7 separate regions of the Homo sapiens genome follow, and all the other regions are linked to region 1. Evidence: promoter capture Hi-C in 16 types of primary human blood cells and fetal thymus (Javierre and others, 2016). All regions are on one chromosome and are shown on one strand. The core of a region is centred on a gene start or on the middle of the fragment in contact, and the rest is flanking DNA. Distances in the headings are between cores, read along the strand shown.

Evidence for each region. The method cuts DNA at HindIII sites, captures the fragments that hold promoters and counts their contacts. A CHiCAGO score of 5 or more calls a contact.
Region 2: a fragment that was not itself captured here is called in contact with the fragment with the promoter of LPIN2 in region 1 in 2 of 17 cell types (neutrophils and non-activated CD4 T cells); the score reaches 8.6 in neutrophils.
Region 3: a fragment that was not itself captured here is called in contact with the fragment with the promoter of LPIN2 in region 1 in 1 of 17 cell types (naive CD8 T cells); the score reaches 6.4 in naive CD8 T cells.
Region 4: a fragment that was not itself captured here is called in contact with the fragment with the promoter of LPIN2 in region 1 in 3 of 17 cell types (naive CD4 T cells, non-activated CD4 T cells and total CD8 T cells); the score reaches 8.3 in naive CD4 T cells.
Region 5: a fragment that was not itself captured here is called in contact with the fragment with the promoter of LPIN2 in region 1 in 2 of 17 cell types (non-activated CD4 T cells and neutrophils); the score reaches 7.6 in non-activated CD4 T cells.
Region 6: a fragment that was not itself captured here is called in contact with the fragment with the promoter of LPIN2 in region 1 in 1 of 17 cell types (non-activated CD4 T cells); the score reaches 6.7 in non-activated CD4 T cells.
Region 7: a contact is called between a fragment that was not itself captured here and the fragment with the promoter of LPIN2 in region 1, in 3 of 17 cell types (non-activated CD4 T cells, monocytes and naive CD4 T cells). The highest score is 6.5, in non-activated CD4 T cells.

The regions. Positions count from the first base shown.
Region 1 is chr18:3,011,414-3,015,733 of GRCh38, reverse strand. LPIN2 (lipin 2) reads left to right here and starts at 2,590. Exons shown (of 20, transcript NM_001375808.2): 1 at 2,590-2,647. RefSeq lists a silencer at 2,200-3,149. The HindIII fragment of the contact is 8,581 bases long and covers 103-4,320 here.
Region 2 is chr18:2,558,703-2,563,022 of GRCh38, reverse strand. The region is part of intron 3 of METTL4 (methyltransferase 4, N6-adenosine); the gene reads left to right. Among named protein-coding and RNA genes, the nearest start is that of METTL4, 11 kb to the left of the region's middle. The HindIII fragment of the contact is 4,359 bases long and covers 1-4,320 here.
Region 3 is chr18:3,432,731-3,437,050 of GRCh38, reverse strand. It overlaps a transcript of TGIF1 not described here. Among named protein-coding and RNA genes, the nearest start is that of TGIF1, 15 kb to the left of the region's middle. RefSeq lists a silencer at 2,132-2,342 and an enhancer at 2,777-3,277. The HindIII fragment of the contact is 5,991 bases long and covers 1-4,320 here.
Region 4 is chr18:2,584,856-2,589,175 of GRCh38, reverse strand. NDC80 (NDC80 kinetochore complex component) reads right to left here. Exons shown (of 17, transcript NM_006101.3): 7 at 3,974-4,063; 8 at 1,253-1,346. Among named protein-coding and RNA genes, the nearest start is that of NDC80, 15 kb to the right of the region's middle. RefSeq lists an enhancer at 1-42. The HindIII fragment of the contact is 559 bases long and covers 1,647-2,205 here.
Region 5 is chr18:2,607,808-2,612,127 of GRCh38, reverse strand. It overlaps NDC80 (NDC80 kinetochore complex component), which reads right to left. Exons shown (of 17, transcript NM_006101.3): 15 at 3,298-3,428; 16 at 1,267-1,369. Among named protein-coding and RNA genes, the nearest start is that of NDC80, 38 kb to the right of the region's middle. The HindIII fragment of the contact is 1,351 bases long and covers 1,611-2,961 here.
Region 6 is chr18:3,402,997-3,407,316 of GRCh38, reverse strand. It overlaps the pseudogene RPL21P127. Among named protein-coding and RNA genes, the nearest start is that of TGIF1, 45 kb to the left of the region's middle. The HindIII fragment of the contact is 2,317 bases long and covers 1,103-3,419 here.
Region 7 is chr18:2,629,372-2,633,691 of GRCh38, reverse strand. No RefSeq gene overlaps it. Among named protein-coding and RNA genes, the nearest start is that of SMCHD1, 24 kb to the left of the region's middle. The HindIII fragment of the contact is 9,719 bases long and covers 1-4,320 here.

The DNA.
Region 1 (4,320 bases), core at 1,341-3,840:
AAGATGGGAGAAAACCTGAAACTCTTTCAGGTAGCTTGGGTGGGAAGAGAAGCTGTGTGATAAGTCGACAGCCTGAGGGGGAACGGAGGGGCCACAAAAGCTTCTTTTTCAAGTGCAGGAATGAAGCCAGAATTGAGGAAGAGGGGACAATTAGTGGAGTGAGGTTCCTCACCTTGGAGCTGGAAGGTGGTGGGTCAGAGGCCAGTTGAAGGAAGCGCTTTCTTCCTCTGACACTCCAGTGGAGTAGGTGGACCTGGGGTGGCCCCTCCACACTTCCTAGGGCAGGAGGTGAAGGGATTTATCATGCAACAAACATTTAATGAGTCACCACTTAAGTGGTAGTGTAAGCTGGTGGACACGGGAAAATGAGGAAAATATTAGCAATATGAACCAATCGTTCTGAGTGAGGTCTCAAACGCAAGGTTGTTTGGAGGAAGGGAGGGGAGCTCTAGGGCTTCCTGAATGATGAAAGGAAGGAAGGGAGCTTGGCAGAATATTTCCCTCCCAAGGCAGAGATAGAGAAAATAGCCTGAGAGAAACAGGAAAAGTCTAAGTGGGAGAAATGGAAGAAAGGAAAGAAAATAAACGCTAACAGCCTGTTCCAGGTTGCAGACACTAACGTAGGCACTTTATAGGTTATCACGGGGAATCCACAAAACAATTCTGTAAGAAAGACACTACTATCTTTATTTTACTGACGTAGAAACTGAGGATTAAATTCTTTCTCTAGCTTTAATTTTTCTTCTCCATATTTATAAAATCCATTGAATACGGAGGGGGATATTTTAGTCCTCTTCAATTTTTATTTTACTTGTGAAGCCAAGTGAGAAGCAGTGAAATGAGGAAAATTCCTAGTGGTCTTGTGCCAGTGAAACTACCTATGTTTCTGTAGGGCCTTGATTACAGATGGGGCAAAACTTGATCGAGTTTCACAGAAAAGCAGAAGGAACTTCAGTGAAGAAGTGGTCGCCTGCTCCCTGAATCCAAGCACTGCCCAGCTACACCAGGCACTGGTGGGAAGAAACTGGGCTGCAGCTGGATCCTTCAAGGAGCAGCTTTGTGTATGCAAATGCCTATTTCAGTACCCTTAGAACTGTATAAATGATCACACACAAGATGCACCTCATAAATTAACTGCCATTTATATAGAAGTAACATAGGCTTCTGTTCATTACTTTCAATCATAGAATAGTAATAGAATAGGCTGCAAATTAAAAACCAGTGTGCACCAATAGTATATAGCACCAGCAATCCAGTTTTTTTTGTTTTTTTTTTTTTTGAGACAGAGTTTCGCTCCCAGGCTGGAGTGAAGTGGCGCAATCTCTGCTCACTGCAACCTCCGCCCCCCGGGTTCAAGTGATTCTACCGCCTCTGCCTCCTAAGTAGCTGGGATTGCAGCCAACATGCCCGGCTAATTTTTGTATTTTTAGTAGAGGCGGGGTTTTGCCACGTTGGCCAGGCTAGTCTCCAACTCCTGACCTCAGGCGATCGACCCGCCTTGGCCTCCCAAAGTGCTGGGATTACCGGCGTGAGCCACCGCGCCGGGCCCCATTTCTTTTCTTTCTGAGACGGAGTCTCTCTGTCGCCAGGCTGGAGTGCAATAGCGCCATCTCGGCTCACTGCAATCTCCGCCTCCCGGGTTCAACTGATTCTCCTGCCTCAGCCTCCTGAGAAGCTGGGATTACAGGCACGCGCCACCACGCCCGGCTGGTTTTTTGTATTTTTAGTAGAGACGGGGGTTTCACCATGTTGGCCAGGCTGGTCTTGAACTCCTGACCTCAAGTGATCCGCCTGCCTCGGCCTTCCAAAGTGCTAGGATTACAGGCGTGAGCCACCCATTTCTTAAAAAGTATATTTTAATGCTGGGGACGGTGGCTCATGCCTGTAATTCCAGTACTTTGGGAGGCCGAGGTGCGGGGATGCTTGAGCCCAGGAGTTGGAGACCAGCCGGGGTAACAGAGCGATAAAAAGAATAAACAAAAAACAACAGAACCCCGGCATATTTTTAAAAATGAGTTGTGTAATAGGATTTTTTTTTTTTCGGTGGAGATGTAAGTAAGCAAAGGAGATGTGCTACTAGTGATCAAAAGGGGATTATAAAACATTCATTCCCTAGACTTTTTTTGCACTTTAACATTCCTTTTTGGCAATTGGGCTCTCAGTCCCACGTGACCTGCCGCAGGGTTGCCATGGGGACCGGAAGAAACTTTTTTTTTTTAAAACAAAGTAAGGCTCCTGTCGCCCGAGGCACTAGAAAATCGAGGCCCCGCCCTCACTTGGCCAGGGGCCCGGGCGCGCAGCCCAGGGACTGGGAGCGGTGAGAAGCCGCACGCCTGGCGCTCGGCGGCGGGGGCGCGGCGCGCGGCCGGGAGCGCGCGTCACGTGGCTGGGGCGGGGCCTGCGCGCTGCCCGCCCGCCAGCTGCCGGCTCGGCCGCCGCAGCCGCGGCGTCCCATTCATGAGGGCCGCCCGACTCAGCTGCGGCCCAGGCGGCTTCCAAGGCAGCGGCGGCTGCGGGCGCTCCGACCCCGCGCGCGCCCCCGACCGGCCCCGCCCCCTCGGCTTCCCTCCCCGGCGGGTCCTAGCCGTCGCAGTCCAGCCGCCGCCTGCCCTCAGCCGCCCGCTGGCCGGGAGCGGAGCCCCTGTGGGTAAGTGGGCGCGGGCCGGGCTCCTCGCAGGCGTCCCTCCGGGGCTGGCGGTGAGTGTCTGCGCCTGGGGGCTTCCCTTGGCGCGGGCCCGGGGCTGTCCTGCCGGAGGCCGGGACCCTCCGGGGCGGCGCGGGTTGAGCCGCCCCTCCTCGCGCCGCGGTCCCCGCTTCCCGGTCCTCGCGTCCCAGTCCCCGCCTCGCCGCGACCGCGCCACGTAGACGCGGCCCCTACCGCCGCCGCCGCAGGACGGACCGGCGGGGTGCGCGGGGAGCCGGGGGCGTCGGGGCGTCAGTGGTGGCTGCTGAGGACTCTGAACCCGCGCAGTTCCCTCGCCGCCGCCCTGGGGATGGTTACCCGAGACCACCCCTACCCCTGGGTTTGGGGCGCGGAGGGGAGTGCGGAAGGCGCGCGGGAGGCCGCGTCTCCATCCCGCCCCCGGCCCTGCGGGAGGGGGCGCCGGGCACGTGATCTGCGGCGAGGCGGGGGCCGCCGAGTTGCTGGTGTTTCTTCCCCGCCGCGCTTTGCCCCGTACCTCCGCCTTCAAGCTGTGTGGACCGGATTCAAATGTGGTTAGTTTTCTCAAAGCCCCCCAGCCCCCGGTGCAGATCTTAATTTGTGAGGAACACGTTCAGATACAGTTTGTACTGAGAGCCTCTCTGTCCACTTCTAACGCCAGCGGATCACCATTTTCTCCACTCGCCTGAACATTTTAAGACTCTTTTCATTGAAAATTCAAGATGACATTTTTTAGGCATAATTATGCAAACCAGTACCAGAAAGATCACCCTTCCTTTCCGAAAAGTACTGGAACTCTGAATACTTGGAAATGCTTTGAAGGACTACTTAGTAAATGGCCAAACTAATTTTTAATGCACATTTGGGGCTTACCCATTTTTTTTTTAATTGAAAACGAGGCTCTAGACTTGGTGTCAAGGTAGGTCCTGTTGAATGAAGTTCTTTACCCAGTAGTGATGATGGGTGTTACTGTTTATTAAAACTTGGCCTGGCTAGATTATAATGTTTTGACAATACAAAGTCGGTTTTGAAATACATTTTGAAATATTTACGAATTATTTAGTGGCCCATACTGGTTTATGTTTTAACGGTCTGGTGTTGATCGTTCTTAGTGGCTTCAGATTGAGAAGAAGTGGCAGGTGATGCTGAAGCGGGGGAGAAGCGGCAGAGCCGGCCACACAGTGCAGGGGATGGAGACAGGTGCTGGGCTGGTCCTCCTGCAGCATCCTCAGTTGTTGGAGGGCAGTCATCCTCAGGCCGTACCCAGCCAGAGAAGAAAAAGAACAGTGTGAAGCCACGTGTGATAGCCGTCCAACATCGGCTCTTCCCTCCAATTACATTGTAGTTGATTGTGGTATGTCAGACTGAAGTATCTCTTTTATTTCGAGACAGAGTCTCACTCTGTCGCCCAGGCTGGAGTGTAGTTGCGCGATCTCCGATCACTGCAATCTCTGCCTCCTCTGTTAAAGCGATTCTTGTGCCCCAGCCTCCCGAGTAGCTGGGATTACAGGCATGAGCCACCACACTCAGCTAATTTTTGTATTTTTATTAGAGACCGGGGGTTTCACCATGTTGGCCAGGCTGGTCTCGAACTGCCGACCTCAGGTGATCCGCCCCCCTCGGCCTCCCAAAGAGCTGGGATTACAGGCGTGAGCAAC
Region 2 (4,320 bases), core at 900-3,399, 450 kb after region 1:
TGGCAAAATTCAGTCTGGAATTCGGTCTTGTTGAATTAATGTGATGGTAGAACCCTGGGTTTTTTTTCCCTTTCTTTCTTGTTGTAGTAGAATATACATAAAATTTTCCATTTTTAACCATTTTTAAGTGTAAAATTCTGCGGCATTAAATACATTCACAATGTTGTACCACACCACTGCTGTTCATCTCTAGTACTTTTTCATCATCCCAAACTGGAACTCTACCATTATTTAATAACTCCCCATCCCCCCGTCCCCCAGCTGCTGGTATCCTTTATTCTACTCACTGTCTCTGTGAATTTGCCTATGGTAGATATTTCATATAAGTGGAATCATACAATGTTCATCTTTTTGTATCTGGCTAATTTCATTTAGCATAATGTCTTCAAGGTTCATCCATGTTGTAGCATTTATCAGAATTTCCTTTTTAAGGGCGAATAATATTTCATTGTTTGTATATACTACATTTTGTTTATTCATTTATTTGTTCATGGTCATTTGGGTTGTTTCCACATTTTGGCTATTATGAATAATGTTTCTGTGAACATTGGTGTACAAGTATCTGTTTTGAGTCCCTGCTTTTTTTAGGTATATACCCAGAAGTGGAATTGTTGGATTAGCTTTTATGTTTAACTTTCATTTTTTCTTTTGAGACAGGGTCTCACCGTGTTGCCCAGGCTGGAGTGCAGTGGTGCAGTCATGGCTCACCGTGGCTTTGAACTCTTGGGCTCAAGTGATCCTCTTGCCTCAGCCTCCTGAGTAGATGGGACTACAGGCATGTGCCACCACGCTCAGCTAATTTTTTATTTTTTTGTAGAGATAAGGTCTTAACTATGTTGCCCAGGCTGGTCTTGAACTCCTGGGCTCAAGCAGTCCTCCTGCCTTGGCCTCCCAAAGTGCTGGGAATACAGACAAGAGCCACTGTATGCAGCCCCTGCCCCCCTTTTTTTTAATCATAGCCATTTTGACGGATATAAAGTGGTATCTTATTGTGGTTTTCGTAAACACATTGGGTTTTAAATGTTCTGAAGACAGCTGAATACACAAATGTTAAATCCCTCAATGTGAGCAGTTTATCTGTTAATTTTGGAAATACACTTATTTTCTGGAAATGACACTTGCAAGGTTAACTGCAGAAATACCAGGAAAATCCAGGGTATTTATATCTATAAAAAAATTAATAAGATTTACTTTCACTTTAAAGTTTACATGAAATTAGAGAATAGAATTTCTTGAATTCATGTATATTCTAATTGCTAAATACTTGTATTAATCATAAATACAAATTATGAAATGTGCTGCAGAATGGAATCAAACTCTTAAAAAGTAGTAGGACAGAATATTTGCTGAATCAGATTTAGAGGTTTGACTATCCGGTAGTGCCAGTCCTGCCCATCCCCATCCTTTTCTCATCACTCCTCTTTTTAATAAATTTGTTTTCTTTCCCCATATAAATTTTAGGATCAATGATAACATCTAGTTAGAAAACCTGTTGCCATTTTTATGGCATCAAGTTAAATTTCTAAATTAAATTAGGGCAGTGTTGACATCTTTAAGATGTTGGTGATTCCGCCCCAAAACATGAATGTATTTTTCCATTTGCTCACGTTTTGTTTTGTCGTTGTGTAAAATTTTCTTTATAAAGGCCTTGCAGGTTTCTTGTTAAGTTGTAGTAATTTTTTGTTGTTGTATCTCTTGGATTTTCCAGATATAGAACTCTTTCAAATAGTAGTAATTTTACTTATACCTTTCCAATTATCATGTTTCTGATTTCTTCTCTAATTCTGTAGGGTGGAAATTATAATACAATATTAAAGAATATTTGTGTGCATAATAAACATAAGTAATATATGTGAGCATATTTACTTTGTCTTGTGCTTGACAAGGGGGATAATTTCATCATTAAGCATAATACTGGGTTTCAACTGAGTTGGAAATAACATGTTAGGCATATATGGAGATTGAACAGATTTTTTTTTTCTTTTTTAAAAATTTTTTTCCATGAACCTATTGATCCTATTGAAGGAGACTGAATAGATTTTTCCTATGATTCTTCCTCAATTAACCATCCTTGCATTTGCAGAATATATTCCAAATGATCATGATGTTACTATTTTTAAAATGTTCTACTGGATTTTCTTTTTTGAGACAGAGTCTCGCTCTGTCGCCCAGGCTGGAGTGCAGTGGCCCATCTCCGCTCACTGCAAACTCTGCCTCCTGGGTTCATGCCATTCTCTTGCCTCAGCCTCCCGAGTAGCTGGGATTACAGGCGCCCGCCACTACGCCCAGCTAATTTTTTGTATTTTTTTAGTAGACACGGGGTTTCACTGTGTTAGCCAGGATGATCTCAATCTCCTGACCTCATGATCTGCCCGCCTCGGCCTCCCAAAGTGCTGGAATTATAGGCGTGAGCCACTGCGCCCGGCCTCTACTGGATTTTATTTGCTAATGTTTTATTTGGGACAGTCATAAGAGAGATTGGTCTGATATATTTACTTCTTCGGCCTTATATATAATTATATATGTAAATATGTAGGATGTTTGCACGCTGGAGAACTTATTAGCCCTCTCGTGTTGGAAGCTAGAAGTTTTCCTTCTTTTTACTTTCCAATTTTCTGGAGCAATAGAAAAATAATTGGGATAATTTGTTCTTTAAAAGTTTGATAAAGTTTGATAGAACCCCCACTTTGTAACCATCTCAGTGTGTTGCTTTTTGTGGTGGATACTTTTTTGGCAACTTTACTTTTTTCCTCTTTTCTTTTTTCTTTATTTATTGATAGAAGAATTTAATGATGAGACTTTTTCTCTGGGCACAGCTTTAGCAACATCATGTACGTTCCGATGTGTTGTGTTTTAATTGTCATGGGGGAAGGTTTTTAGTAACAAAATCAGGTTTTTTAATAGAGAACCGGATTTTCAGGTTTTTTGTTTCTATTGATGTCAGTTTTCACAAGTTTTATTTTCTAAGAAATGTGTTCATTTCAGGCTGGACATGGTGGTTCATGCCTGTAATCACAGCACTATGGGGAGGCCGAGGTGGGCAGATCACTTGATGTTAGGAATTGGAGACCAGTCTGGCCAACATGGTGAAATCCCATTTCTACTAAAAATATAAAAAAATTAGCCAGGTGTGGTTGTGGGCACCTATAACCCCAGCTACTTGGGACGCTGAGGGAGGAGAATTGTTGGAACCTGGGAGGTGGAGGTTGCGGTAAGCCGAGATCATGCCACTCCATTCTAGCCTGGGTGACAGAGAGACTCCCTCTCGAAAAAATAAAAAACAAAAAACAGAAATGTGTTCATTTCATCCTAGTTGTCAAATTTGTTAGCATGAAGTCATGTTATCTTATGCTTTCTTTTAATGTCTGTAGGATCTGTGGTGATGATAACTTTTTCATTGCTTTTATTAGTAATTTGTGGTTTTTTTAAATAGGTAAAATATACGTATCATAAAATTTACTGTTTTAACCATTTTTAGATGTACAATTTAGTGGCACTAAGTACATTCAGAGTGTCATGCCATCATTACCACATCCAAACTGAAACTACACATTAAATAGTAACTCCCCACTCCCCCTTCCCCTGCTGCCTGGTAACTAGTATTCTACTTTCTGTCTCTGTGAATTTGCCTATACCTCATGTAAGTTAAATCACATAATACTTGCCCTTTTGCATCTGGCTTATTTCACTATGTCTTCAAGGTTCATCCATGTAGCATATATCAGAATTTCTTTCCTTTTTAAGGCTGAAAAATATTCCATTTTATGTAAATATTACATTTTGTTTATCCATTTGTTTATGGACTTTTGCGTAGTTTCTACCTTTTGGCTGTTGTGAATAATGCTTCTCTGAAGACAGGTGTACAAATATCTATTCCAGTTCTTGCTTTTAGTTCTTTTGGATATATACCCAGAAGTGGAATTGCTGGATTTTATCGTAATTCTGTGATTAATTTTTGGAGGAACCACCATACTGCCTTCCACAGTGGTTCTATCATTTTACATTCCTACCAGCAATACCCAAGGGCTCCAGTTTCTCCACATCCTTGCCGACACTTTTGTTTTTGATAATAGCTATCCTAGTAGGTGTGGAGTAGTATCTCATTGTGGTTTTGATTTGTATTTACCTAATGGTTAGTAATGTTGAGCATCTTTTTATGTGCTTGTTGGCCATTTGTATATTTTCTTGAGAGAAATGTCTGTTTGTATCCTTTGTTCATCTTCTGGGCTGTTTGTTTTTTTTCTTGTTGAGTTTTAGAAGTTCTTTGTATATTCTGGATATTAACCCCCTATCAGATATATGATTTACAAATATTCAAAG
Region 3 (4,320 bases), core at 1,220-3,719, 420 kb before region 1:
TCACTGCAACTTCTGCCTCCTGGGGTCAGGCCATTCTCGTGCCTCAGCCTCCCGAGTAGCTGGGATTACAGGCATGAGCCACCAGGCCTGGCTAATTTTTGTATTTTTAGTAGAGATGGAGTTTCACCATGTTGGCCAGGCTGGTCTTGAACTCCTGACCTGGAATGATCCACCCACCTCGGCCTCCCAGAGTGCTGGAATTACAGGTGTGAGCCACCAAACCCAGCCCTCTTTTTTTGAGTCTCCCTCTATCTCCCAGGCTGGAGTGCAGTGGCACCATCTTGGCTCACTGGAACCTCCACTTCCCGGGTTCAAGAGATTCTCCTGCCTCAGCCTCCTGGGTAGCTGGGACTACAGGAGTGCGACACCACAACCGGCTAATTTTTGTATTTTTAGTAGAGACGGGCTTTCACCACGTTGGCCAGGCTGGTCTCGAACTCCTGACCTCAGGTGATCCACCTGCCTCAGCCTCCCAAAGTGCTGGAATTACAGGCATGAGCCACCATGCCCGGCTACATTCAGGGCTTCTTTTATTTAATCTGGGGCCTATAGATTTACATTCTAACCTACATCCACTCCAGACATTATTTGAATGTTCACAGAAACAAAGCAAAACACAAATTAAAATTTTGTGCCTCTCTTCTGGGATTCAGCTTCATCTGCTGGATAAAGTTTGACTATTTGTCAGCCAAAATGTAAATAATGCTTATGCCCAAGTTGTGGGATTATGGCTCTTCACTGTTTTTAGCCTTTTGCAAGTTTTCTGCAATTAGCTGGTACTGTCTTACTTTTATCATCATAAAAAGCAATAGGCATTATTTTTTAAGTTAATAAAAAAAGTTGCTGAAATAGTGATATTCTCACTTGACAAATATTGACAAATATTCCTGAGGGCTCACTATGTGTGAAGTATTAACCTTGCTGGTGTGAAAATAAGTAAACAAAGAATAAAAGAGGAACGTGCTCAGGCGTTCAGAGGAAGAGAAAAAATGAGTAGCTTGGGAATTTCAAAAATCGAAGGAAGGCCAGGTGCACTGGCTCACGCCTGTAATCCCAGAAACTCAGGTGGCAGAGAGACAGGAAGATCGTTTGAGCCCAGGAGTTCGAGACTGTTATGAACTATGATCATGCCACTGCACTCCAGCCTGGGTGACAGAGTGAGACCTTGTCCCTAAATATATATACATATATATTTAGTCCTCCTTTATCACAAACCCTTACCAACTAGTTTGGGGAAAAGGAGACCTTTTGTTCACAGCTAGTGAGAGAGCAACTCATCAATGCATATGCAAAGTTTTGAAAATGCGTACATTCTGTGGCCGAGCAATTATTGGGGATTTATTCTAAAGTTTGGGAGTCTAACTTGACAGCTACAGAAGGAATAGCAAAAGGGAAACCTCAAAAGATACACTGAGGTCAAGTTACTAGATTGAGATGGGATCAGTGCCTTATTCTATAAGAAATGATGACTATGTGGCAACAGTTGAGGAAGATGAAGTTTGCAATTTTCTCCAGAATCAATTAGAGACAGAGTCTGGTTAATAGGGTTTTAAGGCCGGGAGCGGTGGCTCACACCTGTAATCCTAGCACTTTGGGAGGCCGAGGCAGGCGGATTGCCTGAGCTCAGGAGTTCGAGACCAGCCTGGGCAACACCGGTGAAACCCCATCTCTACTAAAATACAAAAAATTAGCCGGACGTGGCAGCATGCGCCTGCAGTCCCAGCTACTTGGGAGGCTGAGGCAGGAAGGAGAATCGCTTGAACCTGGGAGGCGGAGGTTGCAGTGAGCCGAGATCACACCACTGCACTCCAGCCTGGGCAAGAGAGCAAGACTCCATCTCAAAAAAAAAAATATATATAGGGTTTTAAAAGATTAAAAGCCTGAAATTTAATTGTGCCTTTGAAAATGGAAATGAGTTTTTCACTTGGTACTTTAAGTTTTTAAAAATAAGACAAGATTGACTGTGCCTTGGTATTTGACACTTACATACAAATTACTACAGACACTTAAAGCATGAAAGACACTTTACCATTGCTTATACTGTAAAAAAGCAATGAGTAACCTTAATGAGAAGTGAACCCACTTCAGGCCAGGTCCATGCCAGAATGAAGACTGTATAAGTCAGCTATTTTACTTGGCTTTATTTTTCCTGTTCACATTGCAGAGGTCAAAGGGTGTGAAAGGGAAGAACTTGCAAAATGCTTGGTTCCTGAGGGTCACGGGTCACCAAACATGCTTGGGAAGTGTTATCATGAAGTCTTCGATGTTGTCTAATTACTGTAGTGTTTACCTCCTGAGCCTGCTCATAACTATATTTACTTATTTATTTTCGTTTTCTGAGACAGTCTCACTCTGTCGCCCAGACTGGAGTGCAGTGGTGCAATCTCAGCTCACTGCAGCCTGCGCTTCTTGGGTTCAAGCGATTCTCCTGCCTCAGCCTCCCGAGTAGCTGGGATTACAGGCGCATGCCACCACGCCTGGCTAATTTTTTTTATTTTTTTATTTTTATTTTTTGAGATGCAGTTTAGCTCTTGTTGCCCAGGCTGGAGTGCAATGGCATGATCTTGCCTCACCGCAACCTCTGTCTCCTGGGTTTAAGCGATTCTCCTGCCTCAGCCTCCCAAGTAGCTGGGATTACAGGCATGCACCACCACGCCCGGGTAATTTTGTATTTTTAGTAGAGACGGGGTTTCTACGTGTTGGTCAGGCTGGTCTCGAACTCCTGACCTCAGGTGATCCACCCATCTCAGCCTCCCAGTGTGCTGAGATTACAGGCATAAGCCACCGCACCCGGCCCAAGGCCCAGCTAATTTTTGTATTTTTAGTAGAGATGTGGTTTCACCATGTTGGCCAGGGTGGTCTCAAACTTCTGACTTCAAGTGCTCCACCTGCCTCAGCCTCCCAAAGTGCTGAGATTATAGGCATGAGCCAGCGCACCTGGCCCATAGCTATTATTTAAATGGGCTGTTTCTCACTTCGACTGGCAAGATGGTACAAGATCTCTGGTAGGGAAGGAGGCTGTTCCTTAAATGTTTTTATAGAATGAAACTGCATTTTGTAATCAGTTCTGGGGAAGACATGCTGATATTGTAGTTAAAGTATAAACCTGGGACTGTGAACCCTCATTTACTTTTTTTGTATATGTGGTACAATATACTACACAACGTAAAATATACCATTTTGACCAATTTTAAATATACAGTTCAGTGGCATTAAGTATATTCACTTGGCTGTGCAACCATCATGACTATCCATTTTCAGAACTCTTTTCATCTGGCAAAACTTAAATTCTTCAAGGTTACATTGAGCTATTATTAAACCAGAGCACTCCAGACTGGGTGATGGAGCAAGACCCTGTCTCTAAAATAAAAAATAACCTCTTTACCCATTAAACACTAAGTCATCGTTCTCTCCTCCCCACAGTCCCTAGTAACTTCTCTTCTGTATTCTAGTTCATTCTAACATGGAGGCTTTCCGTCTTAACCTCCATGAATTTGACTATTCTAGGTTTTTCATAAAAGTAGAATCACAATATTTGTCCTTCTGTGTCTGGCTTATTTCACTTAGCATAGTGTCTTCAACCTTCGGCCATGTTATAGAATATATCAGAATTGTATTACTTTCGTCTTGTAATTTTTAATCTTAAAGTGATTTTAGCCTTATAGAAAATTCATAAGGGCCAGGCGTGGTGGCTGACGCCTGTAATCCTAGCACTTTGGGAGGCTGAGGCGGGCGGATCACGTGAGGCCAGGAGTTGGAGACCAGCCTGGCCAACATGGGGAAATCCCGTCTCTACCAAAAATACAAAAATCAGCCCAGCGTGGTGGCATGTGCCTGTAATCCTAGCTACTTGGGAGGCTGAAGCAAAAGGAGTGCTTGAGCCCAGAAGGTGGAGGCTGCAGTGAGCTGAGATTGCTCCACTGCACTCAAACCTGGGTGACAGAGTGAGAATCAGAATCAGTCTCAAAAAAAAAAAAGAAGAAGAAGAAGAAGGCCAGGCGCAGTGGCTCACGCCAGTAATCCCAGCTCTTTGGGAGGCCAAGCCGGGCGGATGACCTGAGGTCGGGAGTTCGAGACCAGCCTGACCAACGTGGAGAAACCCCGTCTCTACTAAAAATACAAAATTAGCCGGGCTTGGTGGCGCATGCCTGTAATCCCAGCTACTCGGGAGGCTGAGGCAGGAGAATTGCTTGAACCCAGGCGGCGGAGGTTGTGGTGAGCCGAGATCACACCACTGCACTCCAGCCTGGGAAACAAGTGTGAAACTCCATCTCAAAAAAAAAAACAAACAAAAAAAGAAAAGTCTGAAGAATGGTATAA
Region 4 (4,320 bases), core at 677-3,176, 430 kb after region 1:
GACCTCAAATCCGCCTAGAACATTCTTTCCCAAGTTTTCACCATTACTCCCTCCCTCACTTCCTTCTGGTCTCTGCCCAAAACACTATTAGTGAAGTACATCCCATCCTTGTAAAACAGCAAACCCTTTCCATTACTCCACCGTACTTCGACTCTCCTTGTCCTGCTTGATTTTTCTCCAAAGCGCTTATCACCATTTGACTTAAAGTTGCTCATTTCATTATTTTCCTCTTTCTGTCTACTAAAATGTAAGCTCATAAGGGCAGAGGTTTTTATCCTATTCATTACTGTATCCTCAGTGCCTAAATGGTGGCTGGCACATAGTAGGTATACAAAAAATATTTATTTGAATAAATGAATGCAGTTTTTATGCTTGGTTAATTATATACAGAAATATCAAATTACTCATTAGATGCTTAGATCACTCTAAATTTTCCTCTCTTAAAACAAAGCCATTTATTTTGCTCCCTTTCCCATGTGAACAAGCTGAAATTGTCCTGGTTACTCTTCAGGAAGATACAATCCCAGGGGACTATAAGGGAATGCTTTCAGCTTTTGTGATAATACTGGCAAAGTGATTGATTCCATTGTTGGAGGAATAGCTTCACCTCCATTTATCTATTTTACCTTCCATTTTGGCATTTTATATACAAGACTATTTCAATAGAAAGAATGAAAATGTAAAATAATACCTCTGGAATGTTTTAGAGTTATCTAGTAAATACTGTATGTCACTAGGTTGTAAATGAGTAAAAAAAAAAAAAGATTTTCCTTACATATTTGGAAGTATAATGTCTTGTTAACTTTTTGCCACAAATTTTGAAAGAGACCTTAGGTCTTTTGACTAATTGGTGCTTTAATTTCTCAAATAGTAAGCAAGGACAACGTAGGGATATTATCCCCCAAGAGGAATAGCATTTGCTAATTATTGTCTATGCTTCTGGTAGCATGTTTGGTATATTATGACTTTATTATACTGTCATCTACTGCTGCTACACTTTGTCAGGAGGTCAAGTATTTTATTAAGGCGCCACAGACAGTAAGATGTTATGGCTCAGGTCTGGCTCCAACACTAGTATTCTTTTTGTTTAACTTCTCTCCACCAAAGAAACCACAAAGATAAAAATCAGTAGGCATCCAGATACATTTAAAGTAAGTAGCTCATATGAACACTGGATATGGTAAATAAATTACCACTCCATGAGCAGAGTGAAATGACCAAAAGCAAGCACCCTAAGAACGAGAACACTTACTCAGTTTTGACTGCAGCTCTGCATTCATCTCATCAAAGCTGTCGGCACCACTCATAAAACTCTCATAGCATTTTATGGTGTAGTCCAAAAACAACTATGGGGTTAAGCAGATTTTAGAAACAAAGTTATGATTCTCTATTTGGTCTGTTTCACTTTTCTAGGTGGAAATTTATATTTGAATTTAAAAAATAGTCAGAAATACTAAGTAGTCAGATGAACCTATAAATAAGAGACAAAAACCTAGGCTATATAATTATGCTATATGGACTTATTTAGTCTGCTACTTCTAAATATGAATAATGAGGATAAAATAACACTTAAATTTGGATAAAGGCAATATTTAAAAACAGCCATACCTTCAGAATTTTGAGAAGGTCAAACAAACAGGGAAGCTTATTAATAAATGTAATTCAACATAAAATGCACAAACTTAATCATCTTTAGGAATAAAGCACCTGATGAAAAATTTAAATAAACTGCTGATCATCTAAGTCCAATTGAATTGATAAGGTCTAATTGTAAAAACCCAAATGTAATTAATGAAGGCTACAATTACATTGTAACTTCAGGCTAAAAAATGAATTGCATGATGAGTAGCAATCTAAACAGTACAATACTAGAATTCTTAACATTTATCCAAGAGAAAATAACACTATATTTTGCATTCATGAGATGTTTTGGTCACTGAGAATGTAGACTTTATGAGAAGGCAAGAATGGATGATCAGAATTTTCCATACCTTAGATGAAGTAAATATCCCTCAAGACAAACCAATTCCCTTTGTGCTAATTCATTGCTTATTAAGGTGACCTTGAAGTGAGTACCCTGAATAGGCAGTCTGAGTATTCCTGTAACTGGAAAGGTGTATCACTGATGGTAAATTAATACATTTTCATTCTCCTTCAGATCAGTTGCTGTGAATTTGGTTAAGACTGAATCAGTTTCCTTAAGCTTGGTCAATTTTGATCTTATAGGTTTAAAAATATCGAGTTTGTGGACTCACAAAGCTGAGTATCGGAAACTTGTGAAGCCAGATACTCTGACAACTTTCTTTAATTACAAAGAGTACTTTATAGTTTCCCATGTGCTTCTCTATATATTGTCATTTGAAATAATAGCTATAATAGCTCAGAGAGCAAGAATAATTTTTTAACCTTTAGGATGGATGTCAAGACATTTAACACTTTTTTTTTTGAGACAGGGTCTCACTTTGTCACTCAGGCTGCAGTACAGTGACATGATCTTGGCCCACTGTAGCCTTGACCTCCTGGGCTCAAGTGATCCTGCAGCCTCAGCCTCCCAAGTAGCTGGGACCACAGGCACGCACCACCACACCCAGCTAATTTTTGTACTTTTTGCAGAGATGGGGTTTCGCCATGTTGCTTAGGCTGGTCTTGAACTCTGGAGCTCAAGCAATCTGCCCACCTCGGCCTCCCAAAGTGCTAGAATTACAGGTGTGAGCCACTGTGTCTGGCAAGACATTTAATACTTAATAGATGTTGTAATGTACTTGGGTGAAAACTGAGGGGTAATTAGAGGCAGCCCAATATACATATTGCAATGTGGGAGGATAATTTTCTCAAGGGTGGGATCAAAGGTTTTCTAGGAGCCTTTCCAACTGGGATCATTGTTGAAGTAGTAAAGGCGCATGTTTATTTTTTGTTAAAAAGAAAAAGGCAATGATGCCAACACTAGTCAGTTGATGTATCTTTGAACTACATCCCAGGCAGTCATAAAAGATGGGACTGAAATTATTTCCACTTTTCTTTTGTGACAAAAGTTTCAAAGAATGAAGGTTAGAATTAGAACAGAGAATAGTTTTTCTTCTAAGTGGCCCATGTGATGACTAGTTTTTTATGTATGCTAGGAAGTATTAATGTATAATCTTAATGTTTCCTTTATCTCAACCACTTTTGGAAGTGGCGACTCTGGGCTAAGGGGCAATATGTCTAATGAAAAAGGTCAAAACAAAATAAACAACCTATCCACGTGCAATATCTTAAGACTTAACCTATTATGTTTTGTGTTGACAAAGAATTACATTAAAATAATGTTGCCAATACTGATATCTTCATTCCACGACATAAAGGAGGAAAAGAAACATTACGTCTATAACATATAACATGTTATGATTTAATTCCAATCCCCTTCCATTTTTTACTTAGTTAAAATTTTCAAATTTTTGTGCCTAGTTATTTTTAAGAAATTATAATGTGATTCAAACAGATCCATTAATATTAAAAAAAACAAATTTATAATGTTTTCAGGAAGCAAAAAAACAACTCTACAGAAGAATATACAGACAATCCCTGACTTAACGATGGTTTGACTTCAGATTTTTCAGCTTTCTGATGGTGCAAAAGCAATGGAGTAGAAACCATCCTTCAAGTATCCATACAACCTTTTTGTTTTTCACTGTTAGTATAGTATTCAATAAATTACAAGAGCTATTCAATACTTTATTATAAAATACGCTTTGTGTTAGATTAATTTTGCCCAACTGTAAGCTAGTTTAATTGTTCTGAGAATGTTTAAGGTAGGCTAGGCCAAGCTATGACGTTTGGCAGGTTAAGTGTATTAAATGCATTTTTGACATGATATTTTCACCTTACAGTCGGTTTATTACTCTATCATAAGTCGAGGGGCATCTGTATTAAATCCAATAGTGACACAATAATATCAAGGCAATTCATTATTACAGTTTATGATAATACATGGTACCTTATTATGCATAATTCCATCTTCAGTTTCTTCTCCCCAAGGCTGCCCATCATCAAATAAAGGTGAGCTTTCTTTCATGGCAGTATGTATCTAATTAGTACACAAGCAAGAAAAGCAAGTTGATCTGAAAAACACAACTTTCATTTTTTGGCAAATTCTGTTTTCAGTGTCAATTTTAGAAGCATTTACATTATTGTGTAACTAAAAGTCTCTTTTGATAGGTTATTATATTGAACATTAACACTTTTGACTTTCTTTCGAATAAAACAATTTGCAGGTATCCTTTCGATAATTTCAAAACCCTTTTGTTTAGTAACTAAACTCTTCAGGATCTAGAAAGGATGGAC
Region 5 (4,320 bases), core at 1,037-3,536, 400 kb after region 1:
TGAATAAACTTTTCTCTTATGCATCTAGAATAGAATTATTGTATACTATGATTGGGAAAATGAGAACATATCACTCAGATAATTTTTTGTCCTATGGTTCAGATGAATAACACTGGCTGAAAAGGATCAGGCAAGGTTATAGAAACACTTAGTGCTTGAATTAGAAAGTGGGTAGAACCCACGTTTTCTGACATAGCATCTAGGATGCTTTTCTTAGTTCTTCACACTAAAAAGTGAAGACCATTGGCACCAAGAAAGCAGCAGTTCAATGTCTTTCAGGGGAGAGGATGGGTAGTAGGGTATCACATGCTCATGTTTTCAATAAATGGAAGTCTATTAATATGATAAAGTGAATTTTTTTCTTAAACCATACTCAACTGGAAATATATTATCACCTAATAAATTAACCAAGAATTTTATAGTTCAGCAATTTATCTTAGCTTCTGGGGCTCTGTGCAGCAGGTTGGAGGGATAGTTTTATTGGTGAACTTTAGCTGTGTGAAGAGTGGGGATGAGGTAAATAAAACTCATACTTTTGAAATACTTTACTTTGTGCCTATATGAAATCACAGAAAGGAATAACGATCATCATAAGATATGCCCTTTCATCTTAAGCTTAATGAAATCCTAAATGTACGATAAGTTTTCAAATGTACTAATATGTTTTCAGTATGTAGAACATGGCCTGGCATAGCATCATTATACATTGTTGGTGTAATACATAACATCATATGTTGTTTATGCAAATACAATAGATTACTTTATAAAATGCACAAGTGGGCTGGGTGCGGTGGCTCACGCCTGTAATCCCAGCACTTTGGGAGGCCGAGGCAGGTGAATCACCTGAGGTCAGGAGTTTGAGACCAGCCTGGCCAACAAGATGAAACCCTGTCTCTACTAAAAATACAAAAATTAGCTGGGCGTGGTGGCAGGCTCCTGTAATCCCAGGTACTTGGGAGGCTGAGACAGGAGAATCATTTGAACCTGGGAGGTGGAGGTTGCAGTGAGTTGAGACCATGCCATTGGACTCCAGCCTGGGTGATGAGAGTGAAACTCCGTCTCAAAAAAAAAAAAAAAAAAAATGCTCAAGTGTTCCCCTGCATCACGTTGCCACATCACTAGACAAGATTCTTCTGATAAATTTTTGCCAGATCATACTTTAAATAGAAATAAAATTCATCATTTAATTTATATGGAAGAAAGCAGAAATGTATCAAAGTTTTAAAAACCTTTCTTAGAACGTAGGAAAGACCATCACATACTTACCTCTACAGACCCAACATGTGTAGCAACCATCTCTAACAGACGTTGCAAGTTATTTCCCACTTTTCGTCTTTCTTCAGTCGTGGTTTGCACAACTAGTTGGTATCTGTAGAACAAAAACTCTTGTTTAAGTTGTCCAGGAAAAAAATTAATACATCCGTTCTAGTTAGCTCACTTCCCATTTCCACATTCAAAAAAACCAAACTGTGATTGATTTATGTGCTGCATACTATATGTATAATTTGTAGAGGTCCCACTATCAATAATTAAAAGAGAAATATAAACATTTTCAAAGATCCTTTGCAAGCAACAAAACAAAAGAGCACCATGTTTTAACATATAAAGCTTTGGAGCGAAGGGTTGTAACTGAGTCTCCAAAGGGATTGTAAACTCAAATGCTTTCTGGGCAAGACAAAAATTTGCAAATGGGGGAGTAGAAGTCTTACTTATAGGAATTCAAATTCAAATTAAAACCAATAAAATTGCAGGCCAAATAAACCTCAACTGAGTTTTCTCCCCTTGGCCTACAAATAAAGAAGTGAAGAGAAATGACTTTCACAAGGCTTGTACTTGCAATCTCAAAATAGAAAATTTTTCAGTTATTTGAGGGCAACTTAAGACTTAAAAAATGTATATTTTACATAAATGTACACGGAGCCTATGGATTAACTGTTCAGTATATTGATTTTATATAAGTTGCTCAAGAGCATTATATACACAGAGACAGAAAATTATTTAAAGAAAGGATGCCACTGTTTGTAGTTGTAGTTATTATATAGTGTGGCTAAAATTTTTCCTATGTAAGTTTTAAAAATTGTGAGGGAAACTGAGAAGGACGAGATCCTGACAACGTATAATTTGATTATAAAGTACTTCTAAGAAATACAACAAAATATATAGGCAGTTCTGTTGTGTTTGTTTGGAAATATGAGCGCAATCTGGCAAATTTCATGTTTGCTTATGCCAGTTTCTTTCCTGAGAAATACCTGGTGAATGCAGAAAACCGCACCCAGCTGAATCCAGATGCAAAAGAATACACACATCTAAGCACACACATCAAATGTACAGCAGCTACTCAGTGCACTGCATATGTAATGAGCCACATGCATCCAGTACTGATGGTGCAATTTCCATCCCACTTCAGATAACCCACTTTCTACCTCTTTACAGTAATTCAGTCTGCAGCCTTCTGAATGCCCATTTCTCAAATCAAACTAGAGGTCTTTTTATTATGAAGGGTCCCATATTTATTGTAGCATTATGTATTTCTTAGCCATTAAGTATGTGTATCATTGTGCTAACATTTTTGTTTGATTCTTATCTTTTGTTTATATGTGTTACTGATGGAGTTTTTAATTTTTTTAGAGATGGAGTCTTGCTATAGTGCCCAGGATGGCCTTGAACTTCTTGAACTTCTCAAGTGATTCTCCTGTCTCGGCCTCATGAGTAGCTGGGACTACAGGTGTGTGCCACTGAGCCTAACTACTGATGAAATTTTAGTGCTGTGCCTCAATATCAGTTTTCCCGTAGGTCCTGTGATTTTTATGGCATGATTTTGCACAGCATGGTAACTATTTGGAAGGCATATGCTGTGTTATAGTAGACTGACTATAATTTATAGTATAATTACATTTTACTATATAATATACATAATTTCTAGGAAATAAAAACATGAGCTCAGTGGAATTTATTAAAGCTTAGTGGAATTTTATTAAAATTCACTAACAGCCAAATTTATTTGAATTGATTTAAAATTTTTTATGTTGTTTTCAGGGATTAAAAGCCATGTATTAACTAGATCTAACGATTAATGATTTCTTGGTGGACAGTAACTCTAATACTAACAGAATGTATCTGTTGATAGGGAAAGTTCTCGAGTTATAAGCAGTTGTACTTAAGTTCTATATACCATTCTTTCCATCCTAAATAGCTGTATACTATAAATTAAAGCAAATAAAAATAGATCTAATTTTATGGAACTGTTAAATTAATAATCTGAAAATAAACGTATAAATCTTGGTGAGATAAACTTACTCCCGCTGAACAGCATCTAATTCATTCATAGCTTCACTGAGCCCCTGGTTAACAGTACTTTCTAGCAGGTGCTTGTGTTTCTCCAAGGACTCAAGCTCACTGGCACATTTTTCATCCTCTTCCTCTGCTTCCTATCAGGATAAAGTCACGGTTATGGGTTTCTTGATATTCACATTCTGTATACTCTAGGTGGATTTAAAACAATTATAAAAAGCACTTAAATAAAATCAGGTTGCATCATTTGTATTCTCAAGATGCTTACTGTTTTACATGCAAGAGACTTTAAAGTGCTCCTTTGGGAATCCTGTATTATAAAAACAAATGCGGCTGGGCATGGTGGCTCATGCCCGTCATCCCAGCACTTTGGGAGGTTGAGGTGGGTGGATCACTTGAAGTCAAGGGTTTGAGACCAGCCTGGCCAGCGAGGTGAAACCCCATCTCTACTAAAAATACAAAAATTAGTTGGGCATGGTGGCATGCACCTGTAATCCCAGTTACTCATGAGGCTGAGACATGAGAATCGCTTGAACCCAGGAGGTGGAGGTTGCAGTGAGCTGAGACTGTGCCATTGCATTCCAGCCTGAGCGACAGAGCGAGACACTGTCTCAAAAAAAAAAGGTGATTTTATTATTTTTTAATTTGAAAATATTTATTAAAATTTAAAATATATATAAGCTTTAAAATATATATAAACTTTAATTCGATGCTTCAGAAATTTATCAAAGGGAAGGAATGGAAAAATACATAAAGATATACAAAGATATTCACAGCAACATTATTGGTCAGTTGAAAATTTAGGGAAAAAATTAATAAGGGGCTAGCTAAATAAGTTATATATATATATATATATATATATATATATATACTATGTATATATGTAAAATAAAAACACAATAGAAGGATTGCTCTCTCTACATTTGTATGAAAAGATATCCATGATATCTTTTCTTGAGAAAGACAGATTATGAAAAACTATGTATAATTTGGTACCATTAAAAAAATATATGTTTGTATATCTGGAAG
Region 6 (4,320 bases), core at 1,012-3,511, 390 kb before region 1:
TCTTTTAAAGAAAAATTTACAAATTGCCCACATCATTTCCACTCATATCCTATTGGCCAGAACGTAGTAACATGACCACACCTAGGTGCAAGGGAGGATGGGAAAAGTTGCTTCTAGCTTGGTGATTACGTGTGGAGATACAATTCAGAGAAGTTCTATCATAGAAAGGAAGGAGGGGGAGATGGATATTGAGGGGCAATTAACAATCCCTGCTGCAGTGGTTCCATTTTCTTTTCCAGTAGTTGTTCAGATGTGCACAGGATACAATTTTAGCCAATGAGATGGGAGAAAATGCCTACTAGGGGCTTCTGGAAAGTTTTCCTTTCTCTAAGGGAGATAGAGTATTTTTCTTGGGATTCTGCCATGTTGGATATGAACCCTAAAAGAGCATGTACATCTTGTCACCGTGAGGGGAGCCTGCCTTTGGATGAGTGAAGATGGCAGAAAGAAAGATGTAGCCTTTTGGCCGGAATCGCCATCTTCCAGTAATTTGTCAAAATGACAAACACAAAAGGAAAGAGGAGAGGCACCCGATATATGTTCTCTGGGCCTTTTAGAAAACATGGAGTTGTTCCTTTGGCCACGTATATGCAAATCTATAAGAAAGGTGACATTGTAGACATCAAGGGAATGGGTACTGTCCAAAAAGGAATGCCCCACAAGTGTTACCTTGGCAAAACTGGAAGAGTCTACAATGTTCCCCAGCATGCTGTTGGCATTGCATAAACAAACAAGGGCAAGATTCTTGCCAAAAGAATTAATGTGCGTATTGAGCATATTAAGCACTCTAAGAGCTGAGATAGCTTCCTGAGACGCGTGAAGGAAAATGGTCAGAAAAATAAAGAAGCCAAAGAGAAAGGCACCTGGGTTCAACTGAAGCCCCAGCCTGCTCCACCCAGAGAAGCACACTGTGTGAGAACCAATGGGAAGCAGCCTGAGCTGCTGGAACCTATTCCCCATGAATTCATGGCATCATAGGTGTTAAAAAGATAAAAGATCTCTGGACTGTCAAAAGAAAAAGAAAAAGAAAAAACAAAAGAGAAATGTAAAGAACCTATGCACTTGAAGAATCAGATACTGAATTAACCAGTCAACTGAAGCTTCCCTGCCTATGAAGCTCTTGTTATGTCAGATAGTAAATGTCTTATTTTTAAGCGTTTTGGGTTTGGTTTTCCTGCTGCTTGCAGTCAAATTATCCTAATAAGGTGGCTTTCTACTTGTTCTCCTATCTTTCTTTTTATTTGTGTATTGTTGGTATCTTTCTATTATTACAAAATCTCAAAGTTAGTGTAAGATTTTGAAAAATACTCAACTCTCTTTTTTCCTCAAGATAACTTCCTCCTAAGGCCTTTGTTGCTTGCTGCCTTGATCTGCTACACAGCTATCACCCAGGGACTTCCCTTAATTACTTACCTCATTTGAAACCACTGTTTCCTGGATCCTCGTGTCTTTTCCTTGCTTTACTCTTTTGTATTGTTGAGGCACATTGCCAATTAATTTGCAAAGAAAAGATAATGCGGGAAGTGAATTTTCTGAGCCCGTGCACATTGGGTCCTGCAGGCAGATTGGCTTCCTTCACAGATATGGTCTCTCCATGCATCCTTCTGGCTGAAATTCCCTTTATAGAGGAAGCAAAATTTTTATCTCTACCCTTTTAGGGTTTTTTGGCTGAGCCTGATACTTAAATTGACATAAGCTATAGCAGTGGAAGAAAAGCATGCACATTTATTTAATGCAAGTTTTACATGGCATGGGAGCCTTCAAAAAGGAATGGAGACTCAAGGAGGCAGTTAGAGATAAACACAGAGATACTGAAGTAGACAACGCAAAGTAAATTGTGAAAATGTGACAAGGCAAAGGAGCTTGAGCTAGGGTGGTTCATTGGACAGAGAAGTGGCTGGGAGGATAAGGATTAGTCTAACATGGTTTGTTGGTACAGATTTTCCTTGGCCTCAACTTCTTGTCCTTGATGATGATAAGAGTGATATTTTCCTTCCGGTACAGGGAGAACATTTGTCACACAGGAATTTAATCATCTGCTTTTAATAAGCAGTAGGAAGGTCAGAGTGATCTTGTTCTTGCTGTTTTTTTCAAGACCCTTAACTCAAAATAGTCTATTTGCCAGAGTGGCATATTTATTTATTTATTTATATTTTTTGAGATGGAGTCTCACTCTGTCGCCCAGGCTGGAGTGCAGTGGTGTGATCTCAGCTCACTGCAACCTCTGCCTCCCGGGTTCAAGCGATTCTCCTGCCTCAGCCTCCAGAGTAGCTGGGATTACAGGCATGCGCCACCATGCCCAGCTAATTTTGTATTTTTAGTAGAGACGGGGTTTTGTCCATGTTGGTCAGGCTGGTCTTGAACTCCCAACCTCAGGTGATCCACCTGCCTCTGCCTCCCAAAGTGCTGGGATTACAGGTGTGAGCCACTGTGCCCAGCCTGAGTGGCATATTTTGAGTTCCTTTACCTCCACTGTGTTTCTCTAGTTATCACTTCCTGCTCTGTCTTCTAGAAGTTTATTGAAAGATTTAGATCACTGATGATGATCGGTGATCATCATTAGATCTTTCTTTTCTCTTAATTGACCTTTGCCCTTAGATTCTGCCTCTTTTAATTTCTTTTTTCTTTTTTTTTTTTTGAGACGGAATCTCGCTCTGTTGCCCAGGCTGGAGTGCAGTGGTGCGATCTTGGCTCATTGCAAGCTCCGCCTCCTGGGTTCATGCCATTCTCCTGCCTCAGCCTCCCGAGTAGCTGGGACTACAGGCACCCACCACCACGCCCAGCTAATTTTATTTTGTATTTTTAGTAGAGACAGGGTTTCACCGTGTTAGCCAGGATGGTCTCGATCTCCTGACCTCGTGATCCACCCGCCTAGGCCTCCCAAAGTGCTGGGATTACAGGCATGAGCCACCATGCCCAGCCTAATTTCTTTACTATTATTTTAATGGGATCTCAGAAGGATGATCACATAAATAATATGTCATTCCCCCATACTGAATGACAAATTTTATCCCTTTCTAGTGAGACTAATACATAATTCAGACTTTTAAACTGAGTCATTAGGTTGGATAATTCACATTACAGTACTCTTGGAAAGACTATCATTTTACTATTTCTAAAAATATATATTTTTAGCATATAATTAAAGGGATAAACTTTTTATAGGGAGTTTTCATCCACCACATCTCTTGTGTGGGACACTTCCTTTCCAGAGTGTTCTTTAAACCAGGGGACTAGAGTTTCTTTGACTGAACAGAACTGTAGAGCACATAAATAAAATGGTTGTCTATTTCCCATTAACTATGAATAATTCATTTTTTTATCATTACTGACAAAAATGTTACTGAACATCCAGGTCACTAGAAGTTCAGATTTATAGATACTATTTTTTTTTTAATTATTGAAAAGAAAAAAAAGCTTTTAATTTCCTTGACCACATAAAATAATATTAACGGACTACTTAAATGAGCTCATATATACAGGTTGTAAATTAGTATTTTTTGAGAAACTATGTGTCCCATAACTTTCATATATTCACCAATCACCAATTGATGCCTTCAACAATCTTTTTTTTTTTTTTTTTTTTTTTTGAGATGGAGTCTTGCTATGTTGCTCAGGTTGGTCTCTAACTCATGGGCTCAAATTATCCTCCTGCCTCAGCCTCCTGAATAGCTGGGATTACAGGCATGCACCACCATGCCTGTATCTTATGAAGATCTTATTTCTATCATGTTGCTGAGGAAATCGGCTACCCTAATTACCCTGTGTAAAGTCACATAGGAAAGAATTGACTGGGTTGGGGTTAATTTCCATTTCTGCTGGACCCCAAAGCCTATGCCCTTTGTACTATGTCATAGACACAAAGACAGGTGGGTACATCTGTTCCCATCTGTTTTTATTCCCCAGGGTTGTGATAGCAAAATATCACAGCTGGGTGGCTTCAGAACACAGGAATTTATCATCTCATACTTCTGGAGGCTGGAAGTCTGAAATTAATGCGTTGGTAGGGCCATGCTCTCTCAAAAGCTCTAGGGAGAATCTGTGCATGCCTTTCTCTTAGTTTCTGGTGTCACAAGCAGTGCTTGGCTTGTAGCTGCATAACTCTAATCACTACCTCTGTGGTCACATGGTCACATGACATTCTTCCTGTGTGTGTCTGTCTTCACATGGTTATCATCCTGTACCAATCATAGTGGATTAGGAGGCCTCCCCATTCCAGTATGATCTCATGTTAACTAATTAGATCTTCAATGATCCTATTTCCAAATAAGGTCACATTCTGAGGTTCTGGAGATTAGGATTTCAACATATGTTTTTTGA
Region 7 (4,320 bases), core at 207-2,706, 380 kb after region 1:
TCCAAAATCCGGGAAGCGGTCAAATTTTAAAGCTCCAAAATGATCTCCTTTGACTCCAGGTCTTACATCCAGGTCATACTGATGCAAGAGGTGGGTTCCCATGCTCTTAGGCAGCTCTGCCCCTGTGGCTTTGCAGGGTACAGCCTCCCTCCCACCTGCTTTCATGGGCTAGTGTTGAGTGTCTGCAGCTTTTCCAGGTGCATGGTGCAAGCTGTCGGTGGATCTACCATTCTGGGGTCTGGAGGATGGTGGCCCTCTTCTCACAGCTCCACTAGGCAGTTCCTCAGTAGGGACTCTGTGTGGGGGCTCCGACACCACATTTCCCTTCTGCATTGCCCTAGCAGAGGTTCTCCATGAGGGCCCCACCCCTGTAGCAAACTTCTGCCTTTGCTATGGCTATGCTATGCCTGGGTATCCAGGTGTTTCCATACATCTTCTATAATCTAGGCAGAGATTCCCAAACCTCAATTCCTGACTTCTGTGTACCTGCAGGCTCAACACCACGCAGAAGCTGCCAAGGTGTGGGACTTCCACCCTCTGAAGCCACAGCCCAAGCTGTACGTTGGCCCCTTTCAGCCATGGCTGGAGTGGCTGGGAACAGGGCACCAAGTCCCTAGACTGCACACTGCAGGTGGGCCCTGGACCCAGCCCACGAAACCACTTTTTCCTCTTGGGCCTCTGGGCCTACGATGGGGGAGGCTGCCGTGAAGTTCTCTGACATGGCCTGGAGACATTTTCCCCATGGTCTTAGGGATTAACATTAGGCTCCTTACTACTTACGCAAATTTCTGCAGCCGGCTTGCATTTTTCCCCAGAAAATGGGTTTTTCTTTTCTATTGCATAGTCAGGCTGCAAATTTTCCAAACTTTTATGCTCTGCTTCCCTTATAAAACTTAATGCCTTTAACAGAACTCAAGTCACCTCTTGAATGCTTTGCTGCTTAGAAATTTCTTCTGCCAGATATCATAAATCATCTTTCTTAAGTTCAAAGTTCCACAAATCTCTAGGGCAGGGGCAAAATGCTGCCAGTCTCTTTGCTAGAACATAACAAGAGTCACCTTCACTCCAGTTCCCAACAAGTTCCTCATCTCCACCTGAGACCACCTCAGCCTGGACCTTATTGTCCATATCGCTATCGGCATTTTTATCAAAGCTATTCAACAAGTCTCTAGGAGGTTCCAAACTTTCCCACATTTTTCTGTCTTCTTCTGAGCCCTCCAAATGGTTCCAACTTCTGTCTGTTACCCAGTTCCAAAGTTGCTTCCACATTTTGGGGTATCTTTTCAGCACTGCCCCACTCTATTGGTACCAATTTACTGTATTAGTCCATTTTCATGCTGCTGATAAAGACATATCCGAGACTGGGAAGAAAAAGAGGTTTAATTGGACTTACAGTTCCACATGGCTGGGGAGGCCTCAGGATCATGGTGGGAGGTGAAAGGCACTTCTTACATGGTGGTGGCAAGAGAAAACGAGGAAGAAGCAAAAGCAGAAACCCCTGATAAACCCATCAGATCTTGTGAGACTTATTAACTATCAGGAGAATAGCACGGGAAAGACCTGCCCCCATGATTCAATTAACCTCCCCCTGGGTCCCTTCCACAACACGTGGGAATTCTGGGAGAGAAAATTCAAGTTGAGACTTGAGTGCGGACACAGCCAAACCATATCACTGACTTCCTGAGTATCTTGCTAACTCCTATGTCCTCACAATCCTTTTTATTGATTTCAAGTTGTTTCCCTGGGAGATCTGCCTTTCTCCTGAATGGTTTGACCCCAAGTGACAACATATGAAGAAAAATCTAACAAATACCGATGAAAGCCAGCATGGTATAGTAGTTAAGAACTGAAGTCAGATTGCCTGAATTTGGATTTTGCCATTTACTAGAGAAGTTTGCCATTTGCTAGAAGAACTGGGTAGATATATTTAACCTTTCTGTTTCTCAGACTGTCAGTGATCAAGTAGATAAAAAATAAATAAATCACAGAAGAACTTAGTAATTGATAAGATAGATCTGGTTGATAACATGCCAATGTATACATCCTGAAATCTGAATATGCTTTCCTTTCCATTGCCCACGAACACTCACTAAAACTATTAGGCCATAAAGAAAAACCTCAGCAAGGTCCAAGCAGAATAGTGAAGACAGCATTCTGTGATTACAATGCAATACAACTAGGAATTCATAAAGTTTGGGGGTTGTGTGGGGTGGGAATTCCTTCTATGTGGAAATTCAAAACTATTTTAAACAGTTCTTACAGCAGAGAGAAACCACTAACTGAAACTGTAGAAAATGAATACACAGCACATAAAAAATGTGATATGCTACTAAAGTAGAAACCAGAGGAAAATTCATAGGTTTAAATACTTATTTTTTTAAAAGAATTAAGAATGTAATCAAAATTTAGGGGGAAAAACAACAAAATAAATGGAAGCAAAGCAGAAGGAGTGGGTTAGTAAAGAAAAAAGCAAACATTTAGTAAGATAGAGAACAGAAAGACAGAAGTGTTAAGTTAAAACAATTTTTTTTTTTTTTGAGACAGGGTCTCGCTCTGTCACCCAGGCCGGAGTGCAGTGGTGTGATCATGGCTCACTGCAGCCTCAAAGCCTCAATCTCCTGGGCTCGAGCGATCCTCCTACCTCATCCTCTGGAGTAGATGAGACCTCAGGCATGTACTGTCATACCTGGCTAATTTTTACTTATTTATTTTATTTAAATTTAATTAATTAATTAATTAATTTTGAGACGGAGTCTTGCTCTGTCGCCAGGCTGGAGTGCAGAGGCACGATCTCGGCTCACTGCAACCTCTGCCTCCCGGATTCAAGCGATTCTCCTGCCTCAGCCTCCCGAATAGCTGGGACTACAGGTGCACGTCACCATGCCCAGCTAATTTTTGTAATGTTAGTAGAGACGGGGTTTCACCATGTTGGCCAGGATGGTCTTGATCTCCTGACCTTGTGATCCACCTGCCTTGGCCTCCCAAAGTGCTGGGATTACAGGTGTGATAATTTTTTTTAAATTTTTTGTAGAGACAGGATATCACTATGTTGCCCAGGTTGGTCTTGAACTCCTGGGCTCAAACGATTCTCCCACCTCGGCCCCCCAAAGTGCTGGGATTACAGGTGTGAGCCACCACGCCTGGCCAAAAAAAGGCAATGTTTGGGGATGGGAAGCACAAATTCCCCAGTGGGTCATTCAGAGTGATGCTAATGGAGCCACTTTGGTTCTACTCCTCAGTTCCCATTCCCACATATCCTTCCTACTGGGGACACAGCTCCATAAAGAGTCTCTGATTTAATACACGTGTTGCAGCCTATGGAATGATTCCTTCAGAGAGTTTCCTGGAAGATGGCATTTCAGTTGCACCTTTGGATGTCTGTTCCAACATTCTAGAAGGCAAGTACATGATGTGACCAGTGGATCCCATGGTCATAGGTTCACTCCTGTATTTCCTTCACTAATCAAATGCTATGTGTATGGAATTCCATGTTTGTGGACCAGGCATTCCATGAACCCCAGGTAATGGTGAGGGTTGGGGCTCTACAGGCAGAAAAGGCAAACCCTTACTCAGAATAGTAATCCATCCTTGTGAGGATGAAGTGCTGGTCCTTCAAGAGTGGAAGAGGCCTCATGAGTCAACCTGCCACCAAATAGCCAGTTGGTTTCCTCAAAGGACAGTGCTGTATCTGGGGCTCAGTGTTGGTCCCTACTGCTGGGGAATATGGACATTTACAAGTAGCAGTAACTAGATCAGTTTTTGTGCGTGGAAGTTCTTGCTACAGGGCCTACACATGGCTTCCATCTCTGGTAGCATGGCCATTCCACCCACGTGCCTGTCACACCAGTTCTATCCATGTCAACTGCTGAGTGCTTTTGTCAGTGCCTCTTCCATTGTAGATGTTTTCTGGTGGGTGTTAACATGTGATACAAAATTCTTCACACTTTGTGCCCACTCCCATGTGTTCATACACATGGCTCTACCCCAGCCATGGCATAAGTTTTCTGTCATAAGTTTACTCTAGAACCCTAGAGATCCATCCCTGGAATTCCCTAGCATATCTTTGCCTACCACAGACACTGCCAACACGCTAAGGTCTCCAGCATTTTATGAAACAGGAAGCAGAGCTAATTGCACCATGGCTTGGACCTGCTGCAGGCCATTTTCCTGTTCCTGGCTCCACTCAAGGTGAACAGCCATGGCCTCTTGGCCAGCATATGGGCCAATATATACTCCTGGGTATAGAATATGTTTCTTCAGAAATCAAAGATGCCTACCAGGCATGGTGTTTCCTTTTTATGGTAGGGAATGCAAAACATA